Regions from separate parts of the Homo sapiens genome. Here all the other regions are linked to region 1. Evidence: promoter capture Hi-C in 16 types of primary human blood cells and fetal thymus (Javierre and others, 2016). All regions are on one chromosome and are shown on one strand. Each heading gives the region's core, a stretch centred on a gene start or on the middle of the fragment in contact. The rest is flanking DNA. Distances are from core to core; before and after follow the strand shown.

Region 1 (2,775 bases), core at 194-2,693:
CTGACCTACTTCTGTTTTCCAGCAACTCATATCTGAGTGTTGATTTTTTTTTCCTTTTAAACAAAGCTCCGTCTGCTCTCATATACCTCACTTCAGCTGTCATCTAGCTCCAGATAAGATGAATGTTGCTCCAATGCTGGTCATTTTCCAGGACTCTATGATATTAAATGAACCTATCTAGCCTAGTGATCCTCAAGTATATGCCTGTGTGCGTGTGTGCATGTGTCTGTCTGTCTGTAGTGTGGGTTTGCTTGTGAGTGGTAGAGATTATCATCTGGTGGTGACATCTCCATTCGGTTAGCTTGTGGGAGTGGTGGTACAGACTTTTTTTTTTCCTCCTCCACAGGGGACATAGGTTGAGAAACTCTGGCCTGGCAATTTAATGCTCAGTGCAGTTTGATGGTGATAAAACTCCTGAAGAAGGCAAGAGTGAGGCCTGAGTCTTGGAGAGTAAGTTGTTGCCAGTGCCTGACAGGCCTTCGGTTTAATTTGAAGCTGGAGGCCACATTGATAAAGTCGGCCCCGAAAGTCATTGCCTGTCTGATCGAATGCCGGTTTACCCAGCGGAGGCTGGGGGCCACGTGAGCTCACTTTCTTTGGTTTTCTACCCAGCAGCCCAGAATATTACCTTCCTGAAACCCTTTTTCATCAGCTAGCGATTCCTGAAAAGGATCTTCAAGATTTTTATGTTTCTCAGAACCTAGCAATAACTTGGAAAAGTTTTCCAAGTAACATTGATGTGTGGGTGTTCGGGGGCAGACAAGTTAAGGAGCAAGGCACCCTTTTTGAGGACCCGTGGCATGCAAATGACTTATCAGAATGCACATAGTATGACAGTAAACACCGTTTCTTACAGAGGTGAAATAACTCTCACTCCACAGAGACGGAAGTGACCCGAAGCTAGCAGTCCCCTGTATTTGCTTGTGTGACACCGAACATGTCAGATCAGGGTGTAGGAAACTATGCCTAGCGCAGAGGAGGGTAAAGGAAGTAGGGAGTCTGGTGGCTGCGGCGCTCCAGCTTCCAGCCACCGGCAGAGGAACCCTCTACGGCTTGAAAGGGAAACGCAGCCACTCAGCCGCTTCGACTGCGGCGGCGAAACCAAAACAGGGTGGGGCGGGGTGGGTGGTGCTCTCTAGTGGAAGGCGCCCGCTGGGTGAGGTCGTTTTGTCTGGCGGGGGGCTAGGACGGTCAGCCCGGGAGGAGGAAAGGCGCGTCCCGCCTCCAGCTGCAGGGCCAGGCGGCGGCGCCCGCTGGCGTCGCTTTCCCTCTCCCGGTCGGCCTCGGTGCAGGCCAGGCTGGGCGGGCCGGGCGGCGCTTGGGGGCCGGGCTCGGAGTCCCCACTTTTCCTCCCTCCTTCCCTCCTCTCGGGGCCGTCCCGAGCGGCCGGGCCAATGGGCGCGGAGAGGAAGGGAGCGGGAAGCGGGGCGCCTTGGGCCCGGCCCTCCTACGGCGCCCGTGGCTGCAGCGCCAGCGCCAAAGCCAAGTTTGCGCCTCGAGAGTTTGCGCCTCGAGAGTTTGCGCCGGTTCGCATTCCCCGGCCTCCCGTTCGCTCCCCCGCGAACCAGGCGGCCGTGCGCCTCTCGGGGCAACCACCCAAGAGCACCCGGGCGGGAGGACGCCGAGCAGGGGGTGTTGCGGGCTGGGACAGGGGCAGCCACCTCCCGAAGATGCAGGATGGCAGCAGAGCCGCAGCCGTCCAGCCTTTCCTACCGCACCACGGGCTCCACCTACCTGCACCCGCTCAGCGAGCTCCTGGGCATCCCGCTGGACCAGGTAACTGCAGGCCGGGAGCGCAGCGACCCCAGCTCCCCAGCGATCGCGTGCACGGGGCGGGCGAAAGTGTTAGCCACCGTCCCTCCGCCTCCATGGCGTATTTTACAGCCACACACTAGACAGTTGGTTTTTGTGTGTGTGTGTGTGTGTGTGTGTGTGTGTGTGTTTTCCCTTCTTGAGTTGGTGTTAGTGTTTTTCTCCTTGTAAGTGTGAAAAAATATTGGTACAGCCTGCGCGGCAAGTTCTACTGAACTTTTTTTTCTTTAAGTTTGGGATTGCCTCGTTTCCTGTAATCAAGTTCTGAAGTAGTCTGATACATGAAACCAGTGTTTCTTTCATCAGTGTCCTCAAGTCGTTATTGTTTTTAATTTAGATGACCCTACTTAAAAAACAAGCGCGATGAATCTGTAGACGGTAGTCTATAGATTTTGAATGCAGGACCTGGGTTTTAGACTTCTGAGGCGAGGCTTGTTCAGGGGTGACAGTTATTTTGTACCGTGTGTGATGCGGGACACACAAGGACACTTTGGTTTTCCCAGGGTTCGGTTGGCTCATATGCCTGGGGCTGGAGCTTCTGAGTAGGACAGGTTAGGGGGAGGAGAGGGGCCCCAGTGAAGTTATTTGAACTGTCCAGGAATTATCTACAACCATTAAAATTAAAAATGGCAACAACAGTGATTCCTGGCAAGAAACCTTCCTGAAGATGAAGCCCGTCTTACTCATTTCCTTGTCTCTTCAGGTGCTGCAGGCTAGATCTGCGGGATACTTAGTAGTGACCCAATCAGTAAATGTTGATTTAAATAGAATTGGGCAGGGCATGCTGGGGGAGGACCCACTGCGCTCCTGTTTTGTTTCATGCTTTTTTGCCTGGTTTTCTTCCCCTTCCTCTCACCAGTGCTCCTTTTCCTTTCCTTTTAACAAGAGCACACCTGCTGCCCTTTGCGCACACCCCTTCAGCAATGAGAAAGTGAGACCTGGACATTTGCCTTATTCGGGTCC
Region 2 (2,775 bases), core at 146-2,645, 4.7 Mb before region 1:
AGTAGCTCCTGAAGTTAATGGTCCCAACTTTATGAATTAGGGAGGAACTAAACTTTGGGAAGATCTTTGCATAGGTGGGGGCAGGGAGTTGGAAAAGAATTAAACAGGATTACATGCAATAACATCACTGGCCTACAATGGAAAGAGAAATGAAAATTAAATTAAATTAAAGGAGCTACCTGAAGAAGAAATATTTTTAAAATATGAATGACTGGATAAAAGCAGATACTTTAAATTTTTCAATAATAGGTAATGATTAATGATTATCAATCAAGCCAATGTCAGGAAGCTGACGGCTCCCTCATGTTAGAATAATTCAAGGAAGCTTATTTACAATGAGACGAGTTACAAGGGGGATGGGGATGCAGGGGATACTGGGGCCCAAGGTGACCTCATAGGGAGGAGCCAGGGAATGCATATTCCCACCTCACTTTCATCTCCTGTTGGGGATCCCCATTGGCTAGACCCACCTGGACATCACAGGGCGGCCACTGACGTGGTCCCTACAGGTGAGCCCTCCAGGAGACAGAAGATGGAGATGGACAGAAAGGGGCAACATGGGATAACCTGCAAACCAGGGACTGCATCAGACCCAGGGACACAGAATAAATAAATCACCTTGGAAGACCTTTACAGATACGTCTCTTTTTTTAATGTTTCCCCTGATCATGAGAGAAAAAGGAAAGATATTGTGAAGTGAAAGTCAACTTAGAACCTTTAAAAAAGCCTACTACAGCTGGGCGTGGTGGCTCACGCCTATAATCCCAGCACTTTGGGAGGCTGATGCGGGCAGAACACAAGGTCAGGGGTTCGAGACCAGCCTGGCCAACATGTTGAAACCTCGTCTCTACTAAAAATACAAAACATTAGCCAGGCCTGGTGGTACGCGCCTGTAATCCCAGCTACACGGGAGGCTGAGGCAGGAGAATCACTTGAACCCGGGAGGCGGAGGTTGCAGTGAGGCAAGATCGCGCCATTGCACTCCAGCCTGGGTGACAGAGCAAGACTCCGTCTCAAGAAAAAAAGAAAGAAAAAAAAGCCTACTACATATCAAGTACTTAGCATTGTGCTTACACGTAGATATTGATACTTTCCAATCACTTCTACAACTGCTTTGAATCATGTTATACTTATTTTAATACCTTTGTGCAATAATACATATTGATTAAATGTATGCCATTTACTTTCAGCCTATGGCGTTTAGAACTATACGAATTTGTAAAGTTAACATTTTGCCAACATTTTTGTCCATCTAGATCACTGATTCTCAAAATGTGAACTAAAGACTCATGAGGTTTCCCAGGACCCTTTCAAGGGGTCCCCAAAGTCCTCAATATTTTTTAAAAGCATAAAATGGTCTTGGGACCAAAAATTCAAAAAGGCTATTCTAGATTATGGTATTGTATCAATGGATCTTGAAACCAAGAAAAGGGCCGGGGGAACTGTTGGCCTAGATTATATTATTGCAGAAAATGATCTCTATATGTAAATATGTAATATAATAATAATATATGAGAAATCCAATCTCAAGTTTCTGGAGAGAAGGAGACTGCTATATTTAGAGAATATTTTATTTCCCATCAACTTTGAACATTTCACTGATTGTTGTCTACCTATGCAGCCTTACAGGTCACTTGGTGTGGAAGCTAGAAGTGGGGGTGGAGAGGAGGTTTAGGCTTAAGATAATTTGCCCAAGTACAGGGGACTGACTTCTGAACCTCCGGGACATTCATTCTTGGGACATACTAAAATGTCAAGAGTGTTGGCCAAACAAGTTTCTCATTGTGCAAGCAGATATGTGTGACAATGGCAAGGAAATAGCCTAAGATGTCCACTCCCTTGAGAACCTTATCATGGGTGCCAGACACGGGCAAAGGATAACAGGGTCTTTCTCTTAGCAGTTCAGAAAGCGGTGAGCAAGACCCAGCTGTCACTTGTCGGGTTGAAATATGCTTCTATAGGTACAGTTCAGACACCAATAAATGCAGGCTTGTTATGTTCTTTTTCCAGGGAAAAAGGTGGCAGAAACCAGCAGGGATAGTGTATGCTCTCATTTCTCGTTTAGTCAATATTTATTGGCTATCCTCTACACTCATTAATATAGAGGTTACTATCCTATATGCAGCACAAAACATAGTTCCTGACATCGCAGAGCTTATAAACCAATGAGGAGAAGTGTATTAAATAGCTACAACAAATGGAAGATGTGTGATTGAGTCTGCACTCAGGGGACAGATGACTTACAAGAGGACTCAGGTACAGCACAGATGACCAAGGAAAGTGTCATGAAGGAGGTAATGTTTGAACAGGGCTTCATGGGCCAGGCAGGATTTTTAGAGCCAAATATTAAAGGTAGGAGGAAAAGTGAGGCAAGGGCTCAGCAGAGAATTTTCAGGCAGTAGGAATGGCCTGAGGAAAAAGGTGGAAGCAGGAATTGTCAAATGTTAGAGCCAAAAGAAGCTTTGGTGATCAGGTTGTCCAAACCCTTCGTTTGATAGATGAGGACATAGGTCCACAAAGGCCACTGAGTTCTCTACTGGCAACACTAAAATAGAACCCAGGCATCGACTCTGAGTCCAGCACTTTTTCCAAGACTCTTCCCTGGATGCAGGGTGAGAAGAGCCAGAGCTGAGAGCCTGCATGGCAGAGTGGCGGGGATGCAGCTGGGAAGGCTTCTGGAACCAACTGCAGTGCCAAGGGAGCTGGATGCCTATTTGGACTTGGTTCAGACCAGTGTTTCCTGAAGTGCATTCTGAGATGACTGTGCCAGAACCA
Region 3 (2,775 bases), core at 145-2,644, 4.6 Mb before region 1:
AGGTCAGAAGTTCGAAACCAGCCTGGCCAATATGGTGAAACTCCATCTCTACCAAAAATACAAAAATTAGCCGGACGTGGTGGTGCTCGTCTGTAGTCCCAGCTACTCGGGAGGCTGAGGCAGGAGTATCGCTTGAACCCGACAGGTGGAGGTGGCAGTGAGCCGAGATCCTGCCACTGCACTCCAGCCTGGGCAACAGAGCGAGACTCCGTCTCAAAAAAAAAAAAAGCTTAGAAAACAAAACAATCTAATTTGTGCGGGCATCCTGCTATTTTCTACTCTATTTCATGTTAAGAAAATGGTGTTCGGGCCCCAGTAAACAGACCCTACGCAATGTTCTTCAAACTGCGGGTCGCGGGCCGTGATCTCGAAATTAGTGAGTCATGAGCAACACTGCTTAGAAAAATGCAACTGAACAGAATGGAATTGAAGAGACGAGAAACATTGCTTCCATCACGTCTCATTTGGTTAGATAGCTGTGTCCTAGGTTGCGACGTAAAACGTACCTTAGTGTGAAAAAAGCTGAAAGCCACTTAGCATTCTAATCCTTCACAAGTTTCCCACGCCTGTCAGCGACCTTGCAACCCTTACTTGTTATTCTCCAGTTCCTTTAATAGCTAGATTAAAAACCCTGGCACAGGACAGGGTCCATGCGAAACCCGTATCAACAACGCCAGTATCCGTTTAATGGGAGACGCAGAATTCAGCCACCTCTTTCCATGAGCCAAATTTGCAGATCCCTCAGATCAGGACCAGCCACTTAACTGCCAAGAGGATGGATGCTTCGCCTCATCCCCACAGCTGGCAAGCCCAGGCTGAGTCCCTTACCCGCGTTGCAGTCCCCAAGCCCGGACCCAGCCAACTTGTCCCGGAGGCCCAGCGCCAGGCTAGGGGGCGGGCAGTGTGGCCCCGCGCGTCCGAGCCTACCAACCGCGGCGCGCGCCTCGGGAACTGCGCCAGCCAGCCAATAGGAAGCGCGGAAGTGAGAGCGCGCCAAAACCGACCCAGCCAATGGGGCAGTCCCTCGACTCACCTCCCAACCCCGCCCCGGCTCCCGCGACCGTTCAACAACCCCTTCGCCCTTACCCAGGCCGCGGCCCTGCAGCTGTCAAAGTAGGACGCGGCTTCAGAGGTTGGCCGGAGGGAAAGCGAGTCGTCTAGAGGCTGTGCGCCTTGCGCCCCTGCGTACCCACTTCCTGCCGCCTCTTGCCCACTTACTGGGTGGAGACGCTCAATCCTCGTAGCGAACGCACGTAGCTATGGCTGCAGCACCTCGCAAAAGGCCACAGCTCACCTACGCTGATCCCCACGGTCGCTGGAGTGCCCGGCGCGCTCTGCAGTAAAGCCCTGCTAACTCCGCTCGCCCGCTCCGAACAACCACGTGACCAACTGACGCAGACGAGGGGCGGGGCCTCTGGATCCCGCGAATCGCCTCTTCCCTCGGCCCCGCCCCTTCCTGCGCCTGCGCGGTCAACGGTAGCGAGTACTTGAGGACCGTGGGGGTTTTCTGCGGGCTGGGAGGCCTGTGCCCTTTGACCCTCCCCTCCGACCCTGCTCTTGGAACTTCCTTAAAATGCAAAGTTTTAGCCCTTTACGAAAGGGAGAAAGATTTGCCTCCATTAGTCGTTAGCACCAGAAGAACAAAATATTGTATGTGCATATATATTAATATGTAGTACACGACATATATTTGTGTAAAGCCCTGGCTCCACGGACTCGTAGTTGTATTAGGGGCTTTTATATTTTGGCTTTTTGTGTTTTGACTATGGTGTGGTGCGGTAGGAATTGTTCAGGAGACAACCGATTATCAGTTAATCCTGCAGCTATTCATTGAGCGCCTTATACGTGCCAATTACTACTGTTCTAGGCACTGAAATTACAACTGCTGTTGCAATTTGAAGGAGCAGAAACACCTTGGTAATAATTACGTCTAGCCTTTTCCTTCTTTTTTTTTTTTTTAATTGAAACGGAGTCTCGCTCTGTCACCCAGGCTGGAGTGCAGTGGCGCGATCTCGGCTCACTGCAAGCTCCGCCTCCCGGGTTCAAGCGATTCTCCTGCCTCAGCCTCCCGAGTAGCTGGGACTACAGACAAAGGGAGACCCTGTCTCAAAAAAAAATTAATTTTAAAATATTTTAAAAATAAAAAGCAGAAGGAAGGCGTTATCGAGTACAAATAAGGGACATATTACCAAATGCAATGTATGGATCTCGTCTGAACTAAACACTGTATTTAAAAAAATACCCAAGGGAAATTTGAACACTGACTGAATATTTTGGGATGGTAAGATATGAGTTGTTTAAGGTTACCTGATGAGCAATGGGTTAAAAAAAGAGATTAGTTGTAATGACAATATTGTGGGTTTTATTGTAATAGCTTCTACCTATAAATGGTAATTACAGATGAAATTTTATACCATATATTTTATTTGAAATAATTATTGAGAGAAGCAAGGGAAAAGGTATAAATCAAGCTTTCTCAGTATGGGCTCTATTGACATTTTAGACTGGGCAAATTGTTCGTGGTGGGGGCTGTCCTGGGCATTGTATGCTGTTTAGCAGTATCCCTGGCCTCTACCCTCTAGCTACCAGGAGTACATCCCAATTGTGAAGACCAAAAATGTCTGCAGACCTTGTCAGATAACCTTCCGCAGGGCAAAATCATCCCCAGTTGAGAACCACTGGTGCGAATAAAACAGTATTGGCCTTGTGTTGATAACTGCTGAGGCTAGTATGGATGAGTACATGAAGATTTTTTATTCACTCCCTCTACTTTTA
Region 4 (2,775 bases), core at 146-2,645, 4.5 Mb before region 1:
TAACCTTAATCATCTCTTTAAAGGTCTTATCTCTAAATACAGGCACATTCTGAAGCATACTAGGGATTAGGATTTCAATATATGAATTTTGGGGAGGCACAATTCAGTCCGTAACAGTTACTCGCACCAAAACTTGGGTGTCCTCTTCACTTACCTCTATCATTTTCTATCCAGATATTTTACTTTCTAGATTTTTTCTATTAAGTGTTTAAATTCATCCTTTTATCACCATTGCCAGTGCCATTTTCAGGCCTTAATCAACTCTAAATTTCCATGCCTGGTCTTTTATAAGGCCCTCTGTAATCTGACCCATCTTGTCTTTTCTTTTAGTATGTTTATCATGTACATTGTAGAAAATATAACACTAAATTTTTGTGTCTGGCTACTTTCACTCAATAAAAAAGCAACAGTCCTCTTCCCTACCCAGACCCATTTCCCAGATGCAGCCTTCATATAGTTGAAAATTCAAAAGGTACCAAAGTCTACACTGTGAAAAATCTCCCTCCCACAGGCAACCAACGTTATTAGTTTATTGTATATCCTGATCTTATAGCTAGTTTGTACCCATGGGTACGTCTACTCATTTTCCCACAAATGGCAGTGTATTAGCCTGTTCTCATACTGTTATGATGAAATATTCACAATTGGGTAATTTATAAAGAAAAAGAGGTTTAATGGACACACAGTTCCATATGGCTGGGGAGGCCTCACAATCATGGCAGAAGGTGAAGGAGGAGCAAAGGTACATCTTAAATGGTGGCAGGCAAGGGCAGGTATGCAGGGGAACTGCCCTTTATAAAACCATCAGATCTTGTGAGATTTATTCACTATCATGAGAACAACATGGAAAAAACCCACCCCCATGATTCAATTACTGCCCACCGGGTCCCTCCCATGACACAAGGGGATTATGGGAGCTACAATTTGAGATGAGATTTGGGTGGGGACACAGCCAAACCATATAAGGCATCATACTGTAGACACTGCTTTACCTATACAAATTGCAATTTTCATTTAATATAACAAAAATAGCAAGCAGTTCTCAAGCACTTTCTATTTTTCTATTAGTATTCTGAATGCTTTGCATGTTTTAACTCATTTAATCCTTGAGATAACCTCCTGGAGTAAGAGCTATTATAATCCCCATTTTACAAATGAGAAAACTGAGACACAAAGCCTAGGATTGGCAGAACTAGATTTGAACCCAGCAGGCAAGCCCTCAGAGCTCAGTACTTAACCATGATAGCATGTTACTATGTCTTAGGGATTGTTCTATATCTGGACATAAAGAATGTTTGCATCCTTTTTAAGCTTTTCTTTTATTGGAGTTGAAACATATGCTCAGGAAGGTGCACAAACCATATGTACAGATGAAGGAATCATTAGAGAGTGAAGATACCTGTATAATCACCACCTAGCTCAAGAAACCAGAACCCCAGAAGCACCCTCTCCTCTCATGTGCTCCTAATTAAAGCTTACAGCGATTATAAAATATAGTCCCCAAATACTACTTTGACACCATTCCTCACATCGAGAAATAATGTCTCTATCTCCTGCCCTTGAATCAAGATTGACAGCTTAACCCATAGAGTACTGCAGAAGTGATACTGTGCCAGTTTTCAGGCCAGGCCTTAAGAAACTGGCAGCTTTCTCTTCCTGTTTCTTGGGATGTTTGCTCTTGGAATCCAGCCACCATGATAAAGAAAAACCATGCAGCTACATGAGAGGACAAGTGTAGGTATTCTGGCCAACAGTCCCTGAGGTCCCAGCAAACAGTCGGCATTAACTGCCAGACATGTAAGTGGGTAAGACTCCCAGTGATTTCACCTCCAAGTCTCAAGTCCCCAACAACACCCGCCCTCACTGCCCCCAGCCTTTGAACTGTCCAAGCTTATGCTGTTGAGGCAGAGATGAGCTGTCCCCTCCAAGCCCTGCCGAAATTGCAGACTTGTTGGCAAAGCACATTGTGGTGGTTGTTCGAAGTTGCTAAGTTCAGAGTGGTTTTTTACTTACCAGTAGATAACTAGGGCACTATTTTCTTTTTCCTCCCAAGGGTAATCACTATCTTGACTTCTGCTACTATAGATTAGATTTGTTTTTCTTCAACCTATATAAATATAGTCTTATATGGTTATATAGTTTGTATTATACAAACTTATATAGTTAGCATTATTTTGTGTCTGGCTACTTTCGCTCAATGTAATGTTTGTGGGATTCATCCATGTTGTTGCATGTAGCTATCATTTATTATTGTAAAACATTTCTTTGTATGCCTATATTATATCACAATTTATTTATCCATTCTACTGTTGATGGACATTTAGGTTAGGTTATGTTTTATTTGGAGCTACTATGAATAATGATGCTTTAAATATTCTTTTTTTTTTTTTTTTTTTTGAGATGGAGTTTCGCTCTTGTTGCCCAGGCTAGAGTGCAATGGCACAATCTCGGCTCACCGCAACCTCCGTCTCCTGGATTCAAGCGATTCTCCTGCCTCAGCCTTCCGAGTAGCTGGGATTACAGGCATGGGCCACCACACCCAGCTAATTTTGTATTTTTAGTAGAGGTAGAGTTTCTCCATGTTGGTCAGGCTGGTCTCGAACTCCCGACCTCAGGTGATTCACCCGCCTTGGCCTCCGAAAGTGCTAGGATGACAGGCATGAGCCACCGCGCCCGGCCTCTTTTTTTTTTTTTTTTAATATATAAAAATGCTTTATTTTACTCTTTCCATCCTGAATAAAAGTTTAGCCAGTTATAGAATTGTGCTTGACATTT
Region 5 (2,775 bases), core at 85-2,584, 4.2 Mb before region 1:
GCTTGAAGACCTAACTCTTGGTATAATTCAGTTTTCTTCCTTTCTATAAAAGAAATAAACAGAGAGGGCTAAACCAAATACATTAAATGGCTTAGATTTTTCCATCAGAGCAGTCCTCCCACCACCATCAAGACAATTTTTGGTTACTACCAGAAACAAAAACTAAAATTAAGTCTTTTAATATCCATTTTTACCTAGAAAACATACTCGGGCTAAATAGAGTCAAACTAATGATTTTCTTATCTATACCTCATAACTTTCTCACTACTTAGAAGACCCTTGAGACTAATACAGAAACCACAACTATGCATCATTAGAACCTATAAATGTCCAGCTCTAGAGACAGGTTATCTCTCTTAAATATAAACTGTACACAACTATATTTTCTATTTTTACTACAACATCATCTTCAGTATTTTATATATGTGAACAGATAAGCTTGATTTTCTTTGTTCTTAGACTAATACAAAAATGAGAAAAGCTGAATTTATTACCTGAGACTGATTCATTCTCAAGGGAGATGTGAAACTCACATCTGAAGTCACACTGTAAAGTAATGCCTAGTCTCACTTTTTAAAGTAGCTGTCCACAGAGAGCCATCAGCAGCAGAGTTCCATGTGGCTGCCATGCAGTGACATGGCCCTGTTCATCTTTTGTCACCCACTGCAATGTCAGTGGTATTATGTGACTCTGCCTTAAACATGCTTCAGGAGAATGAATGAGGGCAGTGAAAGGGACGCCAACAAGAGAGACAAAAGAGAAAAAGAGTGTGTCTCTGGGCTCCAGTTCTACACCAGCCTCTGCTCTCCCAAATATTCCTTCAATAGCCTGTTAGAGCAAAAAGTGGCTCCTGCTAGAAGAAAACAATTCTGGGAGAATACACACAGTCTGAGTATTGCCAGCTCCAATTAAGACTGATGGACAAATGCTGAAGAAAGATCTCTTTCAACACACCTGTATATGCAAAGAATATTTTACTCAAAATACTACAATTTCTTGATTTCTATCAGATTCACTCATTAAATGTTTAAAAAATGATTTAGAATGCTAATCACTCACCAAAAGAAGTAACGTTTCCCTGTTTGTCAAATTTTGTCTGAAAATAGAGAATAAAACAAATTATGATTTTCTTTCAAATTAGAATGCTACTTATGGTATTGCTAATTTAGTTAAGAATTTATGGTATTGTAAGTAATATCCCCAAAATGTTGAAATGCAAATATAAACCATTACTGACCTTCTTTAGATTAAATCCAGTTATGAGTTAAGGGTTTTTTTAAAATCCTTTTTTCCTTTGATAGGAAAAATCAGACCTGGGTTTAACTTTCTATCTTGGTTCCTCTAGAAAGTTGATAAAGGAGTATCAGTTGTGTTGTTACTAGGTAACAATCCTTATGGTAAAAATGACCATTGACTGGTAGACTGCACTGGACTGGGAAGACGAACAAATTACAGTTATCAGGTGAAAAGCAATAGCTCTCTTTGCCCTTTCCTGATTGTGGTGGCTCTTGTGGCCATGTTCCCAGCCAGAATCCTGGACACTGTGCCCCTGCGATGGTTACAAGGGATACTGTCACTACGGGGCATGGGGATTCGAGCCAAGATGAATCTCACATCCACCTTTGAGAATCTTATCTCCTTGTCACTGAGCGATCACTCAGAGGACCAGAGAAGCCCCTGGATGGCTGCAAAGACTTCTTTTGAAGAGGAAACACCTAACACTACCCTGTTGTTTCTCCTGTCCCTTATCCTTCTGAGTAGACTGGGACCAAGTATGGCCCGCCTTGTGAATCTAAATGTCTACATGAGGCCAAAGTCTCTTTGGTGGGTGTTGCAGAATCAATAAAGATTTACAGAACCCCTTCTGATAGTTTGAAGAGAGGATTTGATACAGAAAATGCACCTATTTCCTGCAAAGTAGGGGACTATCTTTCAGTGATGTTTATCCACAGTCAAGTTTGAAGCTGTGAAACATTTAATGAATCACTATGTGCTGAGCTGTACTACTTACTACGACAGACACATTTCAGAAAGACACTCCAACATACAGGTTTAAGTACAATATAGGTCTTGGGTTACTACCATGGAAATATACATGCTGTGTTAATCACACAATAAAAACTCACAATATATATATTTTATCTTGCTTCTCATCAGCAAAAATAAAATTAATATGAATATATAAGTTCCATAGAACATTAAAGGAAAATTTATATCAAAGAAAGCTTTATATTTGTGTAATAGTCTAGCTTTCAGCCTTATATTTCACAAATACATAAACCCACTGCAGAAAATTTGAAAATAAATATACGTAACATAAAACTATATTAATCACCTGAAATGACAAATTTTAGAGAAAACCATGTCAATATTTCACTGAATATCCTTCCAAACATTTTCCTAATAAAACATACTTATACATACTGCTTTGCAGTCTCCCTCCTTCCAAATTAGCAACATATGCTGAATATTTTTGCATCTCAATATTTATATGTACCCTTTTTTTCTTTAATGGAACTTAAAAAAATTTTTTAAATCATACAAATTATAAAGAAAAAAATATTTACTTTGTAACCAGCTCACTTTCTAAACTATTTCAAACAGCACAAATTAAATTTTTCTTTCTCAGATTCCATAGCTTTATGAATTTCTTAAGTGTTCTTTGCAATTATTTCACCTGCAAAGAACTAACTTTCAGTATTTCACGTTTGACTTTGTATTCTTTTTTTGAGACAGAGTCTTGCTCTGTTGCCCAGGCTGGAGTGCAGTGGTGCA

Evidence for each region. Contacts are between HindIII fragments. The CHiCAGO score rates a contact against its expected background, and 5 or more counts as called.
Region 2: a contact is called between a fragment that was not itself captured here and the fragment with the promoter of MBOAT1 in region 1, in 1 of 17 cell types (neutrophils). The highest score is 6.6, in neutrophils.
Region 3: the fragment with the promoter of GMNN here is called in contact with the fragment with the promoter of MBOAT1 in region 1 in 1 of 17 cell types (neutrophils); the score reaches 5.1 in neutrophils.
Region 4: a fragment that was not itself captured here is called in contact with the fragment with the promoter of MBOAT1 in region 1 in 1 of 17 cell types (M0 macrophages); the score reaches 7.2 in M0 macrophages.
Region 5: a contact is called between a fragment that was not itself captured here and the fragment with the promoter of MBOAT1 in region 1, in 3 of 17 cell types (M0 macrophages, M2 macrophages and endothelial precursors). The highest score is 9.6, in M0 macrophages.

The regions. Positions count from the first base shown.
Region 1 is chr6:20,211,137-20,213,911 of GRCh38, reverse strand. It overlaps MBOAT1 (membrane bound glycerophospholipid O-acyltransferase 1), which reads left to right and starts at 1,443. Exons shown (of 13, transcript NM_001080480.3): 1 at 1,443-1,776. The coding sequence starts at 1,678. RefSeq lists an enhancer at 415-915 and a silencer at 1,098-1,637. The HindIII fragment of the contact is 5,898 bases long and covers 1-2,775 here.
Region 2 is chr6:24,915,788-24,918,562 of GRCh38, reverse strand. All of the region lies in intron 1 of RIPOR2 (RHO family interacting cell polarization regulator 2), which reads left to right. Among named protein-coding and RNA genes, the nearest start is that of RIPOR2, 19 kb to the left of the region's middle. RefSeq lists an enhancer at 155-654. The HindIII fragment of the contact is 2,135 bases long and covers 328-2,462 here.
Region 3 is chr6:24,773,556-24,776,330 of GRCh38, reverse strand. It overlaps GMNN (geminin DNA replication inhibitor), which reads right to left and starts at 1,394. Exons shown (of 7, transcript NM_015895.5): 1 at 1,087-1,394. RefSeq lists an enhancer at 400-479. The HindIII fragment of the contact is 2,242 bases long and covers 232-2,473 here.
Region 4 is chr6:24,737,851-24,740,625 of GRCh38, reverse strand. No RefSeq gene overlaps it. Among named protein-coding and RNA genes, the nearest start is that of LINC02828, 3.1 kb to the left of the region's middle. The HindIII fragment of the contact is 163 bases long and covers 1,314-1,476 here.
Region 5 is chr6:24,406,729-24,409,503 of GRCh38, reverse strand. It overlaps MRS2 (magnesium transporter MRS2), which reads right to left. Exons shown (of 11, transcript NM_020662.4): 3 at 1,060-1,096; 4 at 1-43. Among named protein-coding and RNA genes, the nearest start is that of MRS2, 5.2 kb to the right of the region's middle. The HindIII fragment of the contact is 1,787 bases long and covers 441-2,227 here.